Linked DNA regions of Homo sapiens: regions 1 and 2 are each linked to region 3. The links are contacts of gene promoters, found by promoter capture Hi-C in blood cells and fetal thymus (Javierre and others, 2016). All regions are on one chromosome and are shown on one strand. The core of a region is centred on a gene start or on the middle of the fragment in contact, and the rest is flanking DNA. Distances in the headings are between cores, read along the strand shown. Region 1 holds the start of GPRC5C (G protein-coupled receptor class C group 5 member C). Region 2 has its middle 18 kb from the start of CD300E. Region 3 holds the start of CD300LB (CD300 molecule like family member b).

The links. The method cuts DNA at HindIII sites, captures the fragments that hold promoters and counts their contacts. A CHiCAGO score of 5 or more calls a contact.
Region 1: the fragment with the promoter of GPRC5C here is called in contact with the fragment with the promoter of CD300LB in region 3 in 4 of 17 cell types (monocytes, M2 macrophages, neutrophils and 1 more); the score reaches 5.7 in monocytes.
Region 2: a fragment that was not itself captured here is called in contact with the fragment with the promoter of CD300LB in region 3 in 1 of 17 cell types (monocytes); the score reaches 8.9 in monocytes.

What each region holds. Positions count from the first base shown.
Region 1 is chr17:74,429,866-74,433,572 of GRCh38, reverse strand. GPRC5C (G protein-coupled receptor class C group 5 member C) reads right to left here and starts at 1,485. Exons shown (of 4, transcript NM_022036.4): 1 at 1,432-1,485. RefSeq lists a silencer at 2,473-2,612. The HindIII fragment of the contact is 4,765 bases long and covers 1-3,425 here.
Region 2 is chr17:74,640,229-74,643,930 of GRCh38, reverse strand. No RefSeq gene overlaps it. Among named protein-coding and RNA genes, the nearest start is that of CD300E, 18 kb to the right of the region's middle. The HindIII fragment of the contact is 7,428 bases long and covers 1-3,702 here.
Region 3 is chr17:74,529,535-74,533,519 of GRCh38, reverse strand. CD300LB (CD300 molecule like family member b) reads left to right here and starts at 2,045. Exons shown (of 4, transcript NM_174892.4): 1 at 2,045-2,209. The coding sequence starts at 2,170. It overlaps LOC107985074 (a long non-coding RNA gene), which reads right to left. Exons shown (of 3, transcript XR_007065902.1): 2 at 879-973. The HindIII fragment of the contact is 3,995 bases long and covers 1,409-3,985 here.

The DNA of each region.
Region 1 (3,707 bases), core at 236-2,735, 99 kb after region 3:
TAGGTCCCACTGTCTCACCCCTCTGTGCAGGGCGCTCAGGCGTTTACCCCATCGATAAGAAGGCGCACAGGAGACGCCTGTGCCTGGAAGGAGCGGCCTCAGTGTGTAGGTTGGTGGGGGGTGGGTTGGGGTTCCTCGAACCTCAGCCTAGACACCCCACCCCTATCCCCCTGCCCCTGCCCCGCACCAAGACCAGGCATTTGGGCCAAAATGCCCTGAGCTCTCTGAGACTTGGAAATCTTCAAGGGTCTGCTCTGGAATGTCACTCTGGAATGCGCCCCACCCCCCAATGCACTCCCTCCCCCAGTCCAGTTGAAGGCACAGGGGTGGGGGGCCGGCGGGGAGAGGAAGCTCCAGGAGCACAAAACCCTACTTCCAACAGTCTCCTCTCCCGGGCTTTAGGATCTTGATCGTGGAGTTTGTAAGTGATTGGGTCTTCCAGCGTGTAACACTGCGGGCCTGGGGATGGAGGTGCAAAGGACGCTGGAAAAGCCAGCCGGGAGTGGGGGTTCGGGATCTAGGGGCCAGGCTACCAGAAGGGGAGGCGCTTTGATAGTCTGAATTTCCAAACTTCCCTCAGGGGGATTCTGAACCCTCTCGTCCCTACTTGGGTCGACGGTACTGGGGTCTACACCTGCGCTCCCTGGGTGGCTGGAATGGGGAGCAAGGGAACCAGTCACTCTCTCCCATTTTTAGGGCCACAGAAACCTGCCCTCCACATCCACAGTAGCAGGCGGCAGAGAGGACGCCACCCACGAGAGAGAGTGACCGCGGACTCCCACCGAGAGGCAGGCGGTGGAGGGGCTCCTCTTGGAGACCCCGATTATGGAGTGGTTTCCCCTCCCTCCAGCCCGAGCCGCAGCGCCGGGCTCCCCCACCCCCCCAGTCCCCAGCCGGCTCGGGTTTGAAAACTTTCAGCGACCGAGCGGAGTTGGCGCGGCGTCCCCAGCCCGCAGGATGTCCAGTCCCCCCGCCTCTGCCCTCGCCCACTCCCCGCCGTCCCGACCCGACTCTTCCGGGCGGCGGAGCGGGAAGGCAGCAGCCCTTACCTGGGACTCGCCGCCGGCCCCGCTCCAGCGCAGCGTTTGGGGCCAACTCCAGCCCCAGGCGGGGGGCGGGCGGGGGTGGGAGGGACGCGGCGCGGGGCGCTGGGCCAGGCCCGGTCCTGGCTGGGATGGCGGGGCCCGGGCCGGGACGCAGGGCCTGCCTCTCCCTGGGACCGAGGCTGAGCCAGGCGCGCTGGGTTGCTCGCTCTCGCGCGGGCCTGTCCCCAGGCAGGGCTCCTTGCTTTCGGCGAGGGTGGGCTGGAGCCTGCATCACCGTTACATCACCTCCATTCAGGGCGCTAATCGGGCGCCCGCCGCGCTCCAGGTACGTGCGCTCCGTTTACACAGGAACAAAGCCTGCCCGGCCCTCCCCGCCCCGACTCACCTCCAGGCTGAGCCGACTCGTACTTTCCGGCTGGTGAGGGAGATGGGAGTTTCTGGCCCTGCCGGCGTGTGGGTTGTTGCTGTTGACTGCCACGCCCCCGCATGCGGGCGCGCGCACACTCACGCGCACTCACTTTCTGGGCTCGGCCTTCGCCGGGGCAATTGGTGTGAGGGTGCAGCCCTGCGCACCCCCCACCGCGTCTTCCAGAGAGCGCGCCTACGGACACGCGCGGGGCTACCTTGGCGCGTCTCCGTGGGGGACACCTAGCCTTTGTCACCTTCGTCCTGGCCCTCCCGTGAGACACACTTCAGGCACAGTTCGCTGGGAGCGGGCCGGAGCGAGGCGCACACTCAAGACAGAGTCCGTCTTTGTCACGCCTTCTGCGCCCCCTCCCCTCCCCAGCTTGCACACGTGGACACACCGCACACCGAGGTTCGCCTTTTGCACGCACGGTCCTTCTCTGGGACCTCCACCAGTCACCAAGCGTACGTGGGATCGTCACCAAGCGCTCCTCTCACGCGTGGGCCGAGTCCAGACCACTCTGGACCGTGGGCAAAGGTCCCCCTCGGCCCGACTACCCCGCGCCCGGGTTTCCTGTGACCGTTCCAGGTTCTGCCCAACTCGGAGCGCGCTCTCCCCTCCCGGCGTCCCCGTTCCCTGCTCCGACTTGTCCTAATTAGCCTTCACGGTTTTGTTCCCCGAGGTACAGTGTTTAGCGCGACCCCCTGGGCCTCTGCGCTCCGGGACACGTTGGCTCTGACTCCGAGTCCGTCCTTTCCAGGAGGTCAGGTTCCCACCAGCCCCACCCCCCACTCCCTGTTCCGGGGTGGATCTGTGGGTTGCCACCCTTTCCCCTCCGGCCCCAGGAATCTGCTGAAGCTGGACCGCAGAAATTGGGAAGCGAATCCAGGCTGGTACTTATCCAGCCCGATAAACAAGAGATTTTCCGGCCGCCTTCCCCCGGGGCTGCTGGCCTCGCGGGGGGTGGGGTGCGCAGTCCTGGGGGCCCGCAGCGAGGCCTAGTTAGCCCGCGCCAGAGGCCCGTAGGGGCTGAGGCGCACAGAGGAGGGAGAGGTTGTTGGGCCTGGCCAGGGCCCTGGAGACGCGGAGGGAGGGCAGGGCGCCGAGTCTCGGGGTGCCGGTTCTCATGACGCCGAATTGCCTGGGGGATCGCCAGCGGTGCGCCGGTCGGAGCCAGCTGGTGGCGGGGCGGGCGGCCCGGAGTGTTTGCTCAACCCTGAGCGCCCGCGAGGGGGAGGGGAGGCAGCTGGTCACGGGCTAGGGGGTAGCAAGGTGGAGGAGCGGGGGCTGGGAAAGGGGAGGGTATCTCCCGGGCTGCTTGTTTGCGTGCCTGCCGCGGTCTACGACAACCGGGAGTCTAAACTCTATGAATCACCCGGAGTTGCTGGAGCGATAAACCTCAGGCTGGTTCCTCCCCTCGCACACCGGCTTCTCGGACTCCTGGAGGGAATGTTTGCTTAGCGGCCGGAGCTGGCGGTGAGGCCCTGGTTCTCTAGAACCCTGTATCCCTTCCTGGCCTTGCCCTCACGGGCTGGTCTGGGGTGGCGAAGACTGAATTGTTTCAAGTCTCTTCAATATTAAGAAGAGGGGCGCAGTGCTGCTGCTGATCTGTTGCTCACTCCTGGGCTCCCTTCCGTAGCTCCACCTCCCACCCTAAGATTCAGAGGCCCCCATGCCAGGGAGGCAAACGCTTGTAGGGTCCAAGCAGTTGAGTGCCAACGCTAGAAAGGCAAACGGCGGGTCAGACCTAGGCGAGGGGCATCCGTGACTGTGGGCTGGGACTAGTTCTCGTGAAGCAGGCAACTGGTGCTGAACACAGTGTGCTGGGAGGGGCCGCTCATTAGCATATGTGAAAAGCCAGCTAAGAGCTAGAGGAAGGTGGAATGGAAATAGTCCCCGAGACTGCTTGTGACCTTAAGAAGCCAAAGATGAATTGTGGATCTGGCAGATCTGTTTCAATTTATTTTCAAGCTTTGGGAATCTCTTTTCCCTACCTAGATTCTCCAAAAAGGCAACTCTTTACCACTCCCTCCCGACCCAGGCGGGGGAAAGGCTGGGGCATCTGAGGCCTGGACGGAGCAGCGGAGCCCTGCCCACTGCCAGCCCTGCATGGTAGATGGCGGCGGATATGTAGGGAGGTTTCCTGAGAGCTGTTTGCTCTTTTTGTGTTCACTCCGTCTCACTTCCTGGGCAGGATTTGCCTTTAAAGGACAAAGCAAGTCCTTTGGGGCCGATGACATGGGCTTCAGCCTTCA
Region 2 (3,702 bases), core at 939-3,438, 110 kb before region 3:
CTCTCTTCTAGTTGCCTGGGGCAGAAGTGTTGATGGAGAAGTGGGTTAACATAGTAAGTATGTGGGGGACAGTTGAAATGGCAAAGACTTTCTGCTTATTTCTGGAGCCATGCATATGTGCTTAGTACAGGAATTGAGAAAATCATGTGTGTTATTCCAGAGATTAATTCCAACCTTTCTTACCTGCATATAGCATCAAAACCTCCTTCTTTATTTTGAAATAATTTTAGATAATTTAGTATCTTATAGTTTGTAAGAATCTTTCTTTCTTTCTTTCTTCTTTCTTTCTTTCTTTCTTCTTTCTTTCTTTCTTTCTTTCTTTCTTTCTTTCTTTCTTTCTTTCTTCTTTCTTTTTCTTTTTTTTTGGAGACAGAGTCTTGCTCTGTCACCCAGGTTGGAGTAGAGTGGCGCAATCTTGGCTCACTGCAACCTCCATCTCCTGGGTTCAAGCCTCCTGAGTAGCTGGGATTACAGGCACGCACCACCACACCTGGCTAATTTTTGGGTTTTTAGTAGAGACAGGGTTTCACCATATTGGCCAGGTTGGTCTCAAACTCCTGGTCTCAAGTGATCCACTCGCCTTGGCCTCCCAAAATGTTAGGATTACAGACATGAGCAACCACACCTGGCTGCAAGGTTGCTGAGTGGACGGACATTCACTCATTCATCTCTTCACACAGCATGCATTTACTGAGCACCCGCGGTGAGCTGGTCACTGTACTTACTGCTGGGATATGAAGATGAGTCAGACACCGCACCTGCTCTGGAGTGGGGGTTTCTATTCTTATTGGAGAGGGGAACATAGATAACCTCACTCTGGCTTCTGGTTGGGCTCAGGTTGTCAATGGAGGAAAATGACTGAGGCAAGTCTCAATCATTTTAGGAAGTTTATTTGCCAAAGTTAAGGAAACGCGCCTGGGAGACAGGTCTATACCTTTCTCTGAAGATGATTTTGGGGGCTTCAATATTTAAAAGGGAAAGGGTGGGATATTGAGAAATACACAATTTTCTTGTGAGAGGGGAGGTGGGGAAAATAGCCATTCAGGCCTTTGTCTGGCTCAGTGAATCTGCATTTTTACCTAAGATAACGTAAACAACAGGGCAGAGGAAACAGTCAGATATGCGTTTGTCTCAGGTGGGCAGAGGAATGACTTTGAGTTCTGTCCTGTGTCTCGCACCTGTGAAGATAAGCTATCAGTTTACATTGGCATGGGGAAATTTAACAGAAACGCTTTAAAGACCACAATGTGAGGGAGGTTGGTAGCCTGTCATCCTTGTCACCATCTCATTTAGGAACCAACATGGGAGGTAGGTTTGCATGACCCAGTTCCCTGCTTGACTTTTTCCTTTGGCTTAGTGAGTTTGGGGTCCCAAGATTTATTTTCTTTCCAAGGAATGGCAATGGGTGGTGCCAGCAGGAGAAAGGAAGGTGAGAGTTTCTCCTGCCCAGGTGCCACCCTGCTGGGCTGGAGTGTCCGTTTTCCTACTTTGAGGTCACAGCCCCTGTGGCATGGTCCTGTCCTACAGTTCCTGTGGGTTCTGGTTATTTCTGACACCTCTCCCTGTGTTAGAGGTGTCGTGGCCCTACTGCTGTTGCTAGTCCTGTTTTTTCTCCATCTCTTGTTGATTTCACTTAACTCTTTCCTTCTCTTTGTAAATTTCCCCTGCATTAGATTATTCTGTTATACCAACTGAGCCTGCCATTGGCCCACTCCCAGGATCCTGACAGAATCATGATCTCTCCTTCTTCTTTGTATACACAGCGCCTTTACTTAGTAGACGCTCATTAAGTGACTGTCCAATTAATAATAATGTAACATGTTAGGGGCTGTGTCAGCAATTTTTGGGTAAGATTTGCCCTCTGAACATCCAACTCCCTGTTTTGATGTCAGATAAATCTGCTGGATTAGTATATTTGAAGACACAATGATACATAAAAATGTGACTTAACTTGTCTGTTTTTGGAAGTTGTAGGCTCTTGAGAAACTGGGTGGGTGCCCTGTGATGCTAATTATTATGAGAATTAAAGCCACAAAGTTTCTGTTGTGATTAGTAGTTTTCCTGTCTCCAGCTTCTGCTTTTTCTGAACAGCTCTACGTATAAACATTGATGCAATGGGAAAACAACAAAACTGAGGTGTAGAAAAGAGAGACGCAAGGGAGTAGTAAGAAACATGAAAGCCAGTTTCAGTCCAGCTGACAGAAGCTCCCCAAATGTTGGCAGATGAGGCAGAGAGAGCAAAGAGACACAGTGACACATCTGCCCCTCCTGGACATCCTGGGTCCGGGGAGTGGGGTGGGGGAGGCTGGTGGGAGCATGAGGAACAGCAGGCCTAGTGGCTGGGGAAGGGGAGGTGGGTGGGGCTGGGGTGCACTGGGGAGAGGATGAGGGAATCAGAGGGATGACTAGAGTTTCAGGCTCCAGCCTCAGATGGGTGGGCTCTGCTGATAACAAACAGAGGCCCAAGGAAAGCGACTAAGCCAGGCCTGGTAGTCCAGAGGGCACAGAGGCAACCCAGGGTGTAGTGGGGAGCCCCTCCAGGGCCAGGCGAAGTCTTGCTCAGCATGAGGTCTGCAGCTGCAAACACAAAGTAGGACTCACACTTAGCAGGGCCTCCATATGCGGCAGCAGAATGCACAAATGGATTTGAGTTGTTCTGAACATTAGAGAAGCCCAGTGGGGAAAGGAATGCAGGGTCTGGGTCAGGTGCGGTGGCTCACGCCTGTAATCCCAGAGCTTTGGGAGGCTGAGGTGGGTGGACCACCTGAGGTCAGGAGAGGAGCGCCGTGTACCATCAAGACAGCCCTGGCAAATGCTTTTTCACAGTGGTCACAAAGAACCCCAGCAAGGAAGATGTGGCTGTGTGCTGGTGTGCAAAGAGAGATGTTTTTATGCACCCAGGGGACATGGGATGATTGCTGTTTTGTCACATGGGAGTGTCCTGTAACCCCCACCCTCCTTCCCAAAGAGCACAGACTGTGTCTGACAGCTGGTATGTGTGTGCACGTGCGCACATGTGTGCTTGCACACCTTCTGCAGGCTCCTCCTCTGTTCTAGCATCAGAGTCATATCTCTCTCATCTGTTTCTTTTTTCTTTTTCTTTTTTTTGAGTTGGAGTTTTGCTCTTGTCACCCAGGCTGGAGTGCAATGGCACGATCTTGGCTCACTGCAACTTCCTCCTCTCGGGTTCAAGGGATTCTCCTGCCTCAGCCTCCCAAGTAGCTGGGATTACAGGTACCCACCACCAATGCCCAGCTAACTTTTGTATTTTTAGTAGAGACAGGGTTTCACCATGTTGACCAGGCTGGTCTCCAACTCTTGGCCTCATGTGATCCACCCGCCTTGGCCTCCCAAAGTGCTGGGATTACAGGTGTGAGCCACCGCGCCCTGCCAGGGTGGGGGGTCCTAGCTAGGAATACATAGAAAGACTCTGGAGATTCTTTTAATAGGATATGCGAAACTCAGTGTATGTGTGTGTTTTCCTAGGGCATGGGTGTATAGCTTTTGTTACAATCTCAAGTGTATCTGTGACCTCAGCTCCCCGAAGTTAAGAACACAGGGGACTCTCTCTCGCCTTGAATCCTCCAGAATTCGCTCACCAGCCCTGTCTGGTGTGGATATGAAGGTGAAGGAGAGGCCTCGGAGGCTTAGGGCGGGACCCATGGGCTCCTAACAGTGGCATTGCTCATCTCTAATGTTCCA
Region 3 (3,985 bases), core at 796-3,295:
CAGCCTCCCGAGTAGCTGGGACTACAGGCGCCCGCCACCACGCCTGGCTAATTTTTTTTTGTATTTTTAGTAGAGACGGGGTTTCACTGTGTTAGCCAGGATGGTCTCGATCTCCCGACCTCATGATCTGCCCGCCTCGGCCTCCCAAAGTGCTGGGATTACAGGCATGAGCCACCGCGCCTGGCCGAGCCTGATTTCTAATCATGCAAAAAGAAGCTGCGGTTTGCCATGAAAAAATATGCTTTATGTAGAGGATTTCTATTTCTACTAGGTGGCACTGTTGGCTTAGAAATACTATGTGCTCACTAGAGACGTGGTAGTGAGTAACCTCACGGTGGGAGAAAGGGGAGAACTCTGTTCCTAGAAGATTGCAAGGGCATCTTCCTGATTTTGCCTAACAGGATTACTTTCCTAGGCTGTAAAACTCGCTACACATTTCACACAAAGAAAGTGTAAGAGACCGCAGATAGAGAAGGAAGGAGAGTTTTGTGACAAGATAGTTGAGGATTCTTTGCCAACACCCAGAATGGGCCGCCAGAGGCTGGGTCCAGTCCAGGGGCCTTTGAATCATGCCAGGGTGTGCTCTGGCCAGAAATTGTTAGTTGCCTTAGAACTTTTCCCAGCCTTGCACAATGGCGAGGTCTTCCCGTGAAAAGAAGCTGATTTAAAACATGGCCAACATTCCCAATGACCCAGGGGTGTTGGGGGGTTCTCCGTGTTCTCAGCAGCAAGCCTCACATTCGAGTCTTCAGTATGGCAGCCAACACTAAGTGTATGTACCCGGCTGACGGATGCCCATTGACTTATTTTATTTTAAAATAGAGGCTAAGAGTGCCTCGGAATGATAGAAGAGATTTTAAGCTCACTCCCATACTTACCACTCCGATGAGTGTCGTACCTTGGATTCCCGGCCAATGCAACAAAATGGTATGGCTCTGATGACTGGAGGAACACTAGGGTCCTTGGTCTCCCACTGGTTTGAATAAAACAACATGGGCACACGTGGAGTGGTTTTAAGGAGTGGAGAATTTAATAGACAAGAAAGAAGGAAGGAAGAGGCTCCCCCTGTTCTGAGACTGAGGGAGGCGGGCTCCAAGCTGAAAGAGGGAACCTCGAGTACGGTGGAAAACAGCCAGTTATATGAGGAGGCTGGAGGAGGCGGTACCTGATTTGCATAGGGCCCAGGGGATTGGTTTGACCAGGTATGTCATTCAAGTAGCCCACGAAAAAACTAGCCTTCCTACCCTAGCCTTTTAATATGCAAATACAGGCGCCATGATGTTCTACACACATGGGTGTATGTAGGGGCGGCCATGTTGCCAGGAACGTGGGGAAAAGAAGAAGAGGCGGGAGTCTCCATGTTTGGGTGGACGCAGTTTCTAATGGCCTGTATTTGCATATCAAAGCTTGCCTGCCCAGCTCTAAGAGCCAGGGCTTTTCTTCTAGACAAGAAACATTTATGGAGCTGCTTTAAAAGAAAAAAAAATCTTCCCAAGCACCCCTTTTCCTATCTACCTAAAATAATTTCTTAATAACTCCTATAACAACAACAAACATTATGAGCCCAGTTAATAGATACAATAACTGAGGCACAGAGATGTTGATTGCATTGTCCACAGTCACGCAGCTTGTAGGTGGTGCTCGTGGGGTTAGAGCCAGGTCTGTCTGACCCAACAGTCTGCATGTTTATGCACTTGGCTATAACACCTGAACAAATGCATGTTCAGGTGTGCCCAGCATGACCCATCCGACATCTGAGTTGGGTGTTCACTGTGGTATAGAACAGCTCTGAAATTGACTCCCAGAGTGTTATACCCCTTGGACCCAAGGCCTGCTAGGCCAGACGCCCCCCACCCCACCCCTTCTGCAGACGTATCTCCCCCTACCCTAAAGACCCTGCACAGTCCCCTCCCTCCTCTTTTTTACATAGTGACGATGCTTAAGCCCTGTGGCGCAGCCCTGCCAAAAAATGACACCTCTTTCGTTTAATAATTAAAAGCAGGAACTACCCACTCTATAAAAGGAAGTGAATGAGTAAGAAAGTCAAAGGCGGTCTAGATGTGCAGAAGGTGCAAGCCAGAGCTCAGGCAGAACTTCCAGAGTGCATCTGGGATCTGCATTTGCCACTGGTTGCAGATCAGGCGGACGAGGAGCCGGGAAGGCAGAGCCATGTGGCTGCCCCCTGCTCTGCTCCTTCTCAGCCTCTCAGGTGAGTGGGGCTGGGGCCTTGGGCGCTTGGTATGACAGGGGCAGGGCAGGAGGCAGAGGGCATTTGTCCTTCCACATCCAGGGAAATGAGAGGTGGCTTTGTGAAGTCATTCGACAAAGGTGCACTGGGGACTGACATCGTGTGCTTCGGGGCCTGAGGACATCAAGAAAAAAGAGGAGGAGAACTGGCCATTAAAGAAGACTCCAGGCTTGAGGCCATGGCTCACACCTATAATCCTAACACTTTGGGAGGCCAAGGTGGGAGGATTGCTTGAGTCCAGGCGTTTAAGACCAGTTTGGGCAACATGGTGAGACCTCGTCTCTATATAAAATGAACAAAAATTAGCTGGGCGTGGTGACCGTGCCTGTAGTCCCAGCTACTTGGGAGGCTGAAGCTGGAGGATCCTTTGAGCTCAGGTATTCAATTCTGCAGAGTTATGATCGCACCACAGCACTCCAGCCTGGGTGATACAGTGGGACCTTGTCTCAAAAAAAAAATAAAGTAAAAAGACTCCAGATGGCTTAGTGGGTGAGACATACACATAAACAATGAGCAATTGCAGGACACAATAAGGCATTGGTGGAGGCGTGTGCGGAGGATGAAGCAGTTCTCTCTGGTGACTAGAGAAAGACTCACGAAGCTGTGCACTTGATGTGCCTTGTAGAAGGAAGGTCAGTCTCTGGAGCAGAGCTGAGAGGAGAACACTCTAGAGAGTTGGGTGTGTGTGTGTGTGTGTGTGTGTGTGTGTGTGTGTGTGTGTTGGGGGACCTGGGCAGAGAGATGGAGGCTTAGAAAGAATGGTGGATTCATGCAGAGGGAGCTGTCAGTGTGCAGGATGTCTTGGAGGTGGCGAGTTGGATATGAGGTTGGAAACACAAAAGACAAGATTATGAAGGCCATCCACGCCAGGCTCAGGAGCTGAGACTTTCAAAGAAAAAACTTCTCAAGAACCCAGGTGGAAAGTGGGAAGGGCTAGATGATCTTCTCCATGGCAAACCTTGGTGGACACCTAGAGGGCATTAGGGGACAATCTAGAATTTTACGCAGGGTGTGCAATGTGTGTGGGCCACACAGTTTTCTGCTGGTGCCTAGGGACTGACCATCTGGCACAGATAGAGCAGTCCACGGAGGGACAACAGGAAAGAGCATGGCTGGGGAGTTCTGAGACCCGACTCCAGTCCTGGCTGGACTTCCACCCTTCAGCCCGTTCAACGGGGCTCTGCTCCAAGCTGACGGCTGCCCTGTCATTTCCATCTCTATCGTTCCTCATACCAACTCTTGACAACATATAGAAGCCTGATTAATAGTTCCAGCCATCATATTCTGTGGTTAGAGAAACCCCCAAATATTTTTTTAAACGGGACTAATTACATCGTGAGCCATTTACAGTTTGAATGACTGAAGCTGGGATTGATGACACTTTGTTCAATGCAGCAGCATCTCTTTTCTGCTGTTAGTGATTGCTGACAAATCCAATTTATGTTTTTGGGTATTTTGTTTTTGTTTTTGTTTTTTGTTTTTGAGACGGAGTTTCACTCTGTCACCCAGGTTGGAGTGCAGTGGTGCAACCTTGGCTCACTGCAACCTCCGCCTCCCAGGTTCGAGTGATTCTTCTGCCTCAGTCTCCCAAGAAGCTGGGATTAAGGTGCCTGCCACCATGCCTGGCTAATTTTTGTAATTTTAGTAGAGACAGGATTTCACCATGTTGGTGAGGTTGGTCTTGAACTCCTGACCTCAGGTGATCCACCCACCTTGGCCTCCCAAAGTGCGGGAATA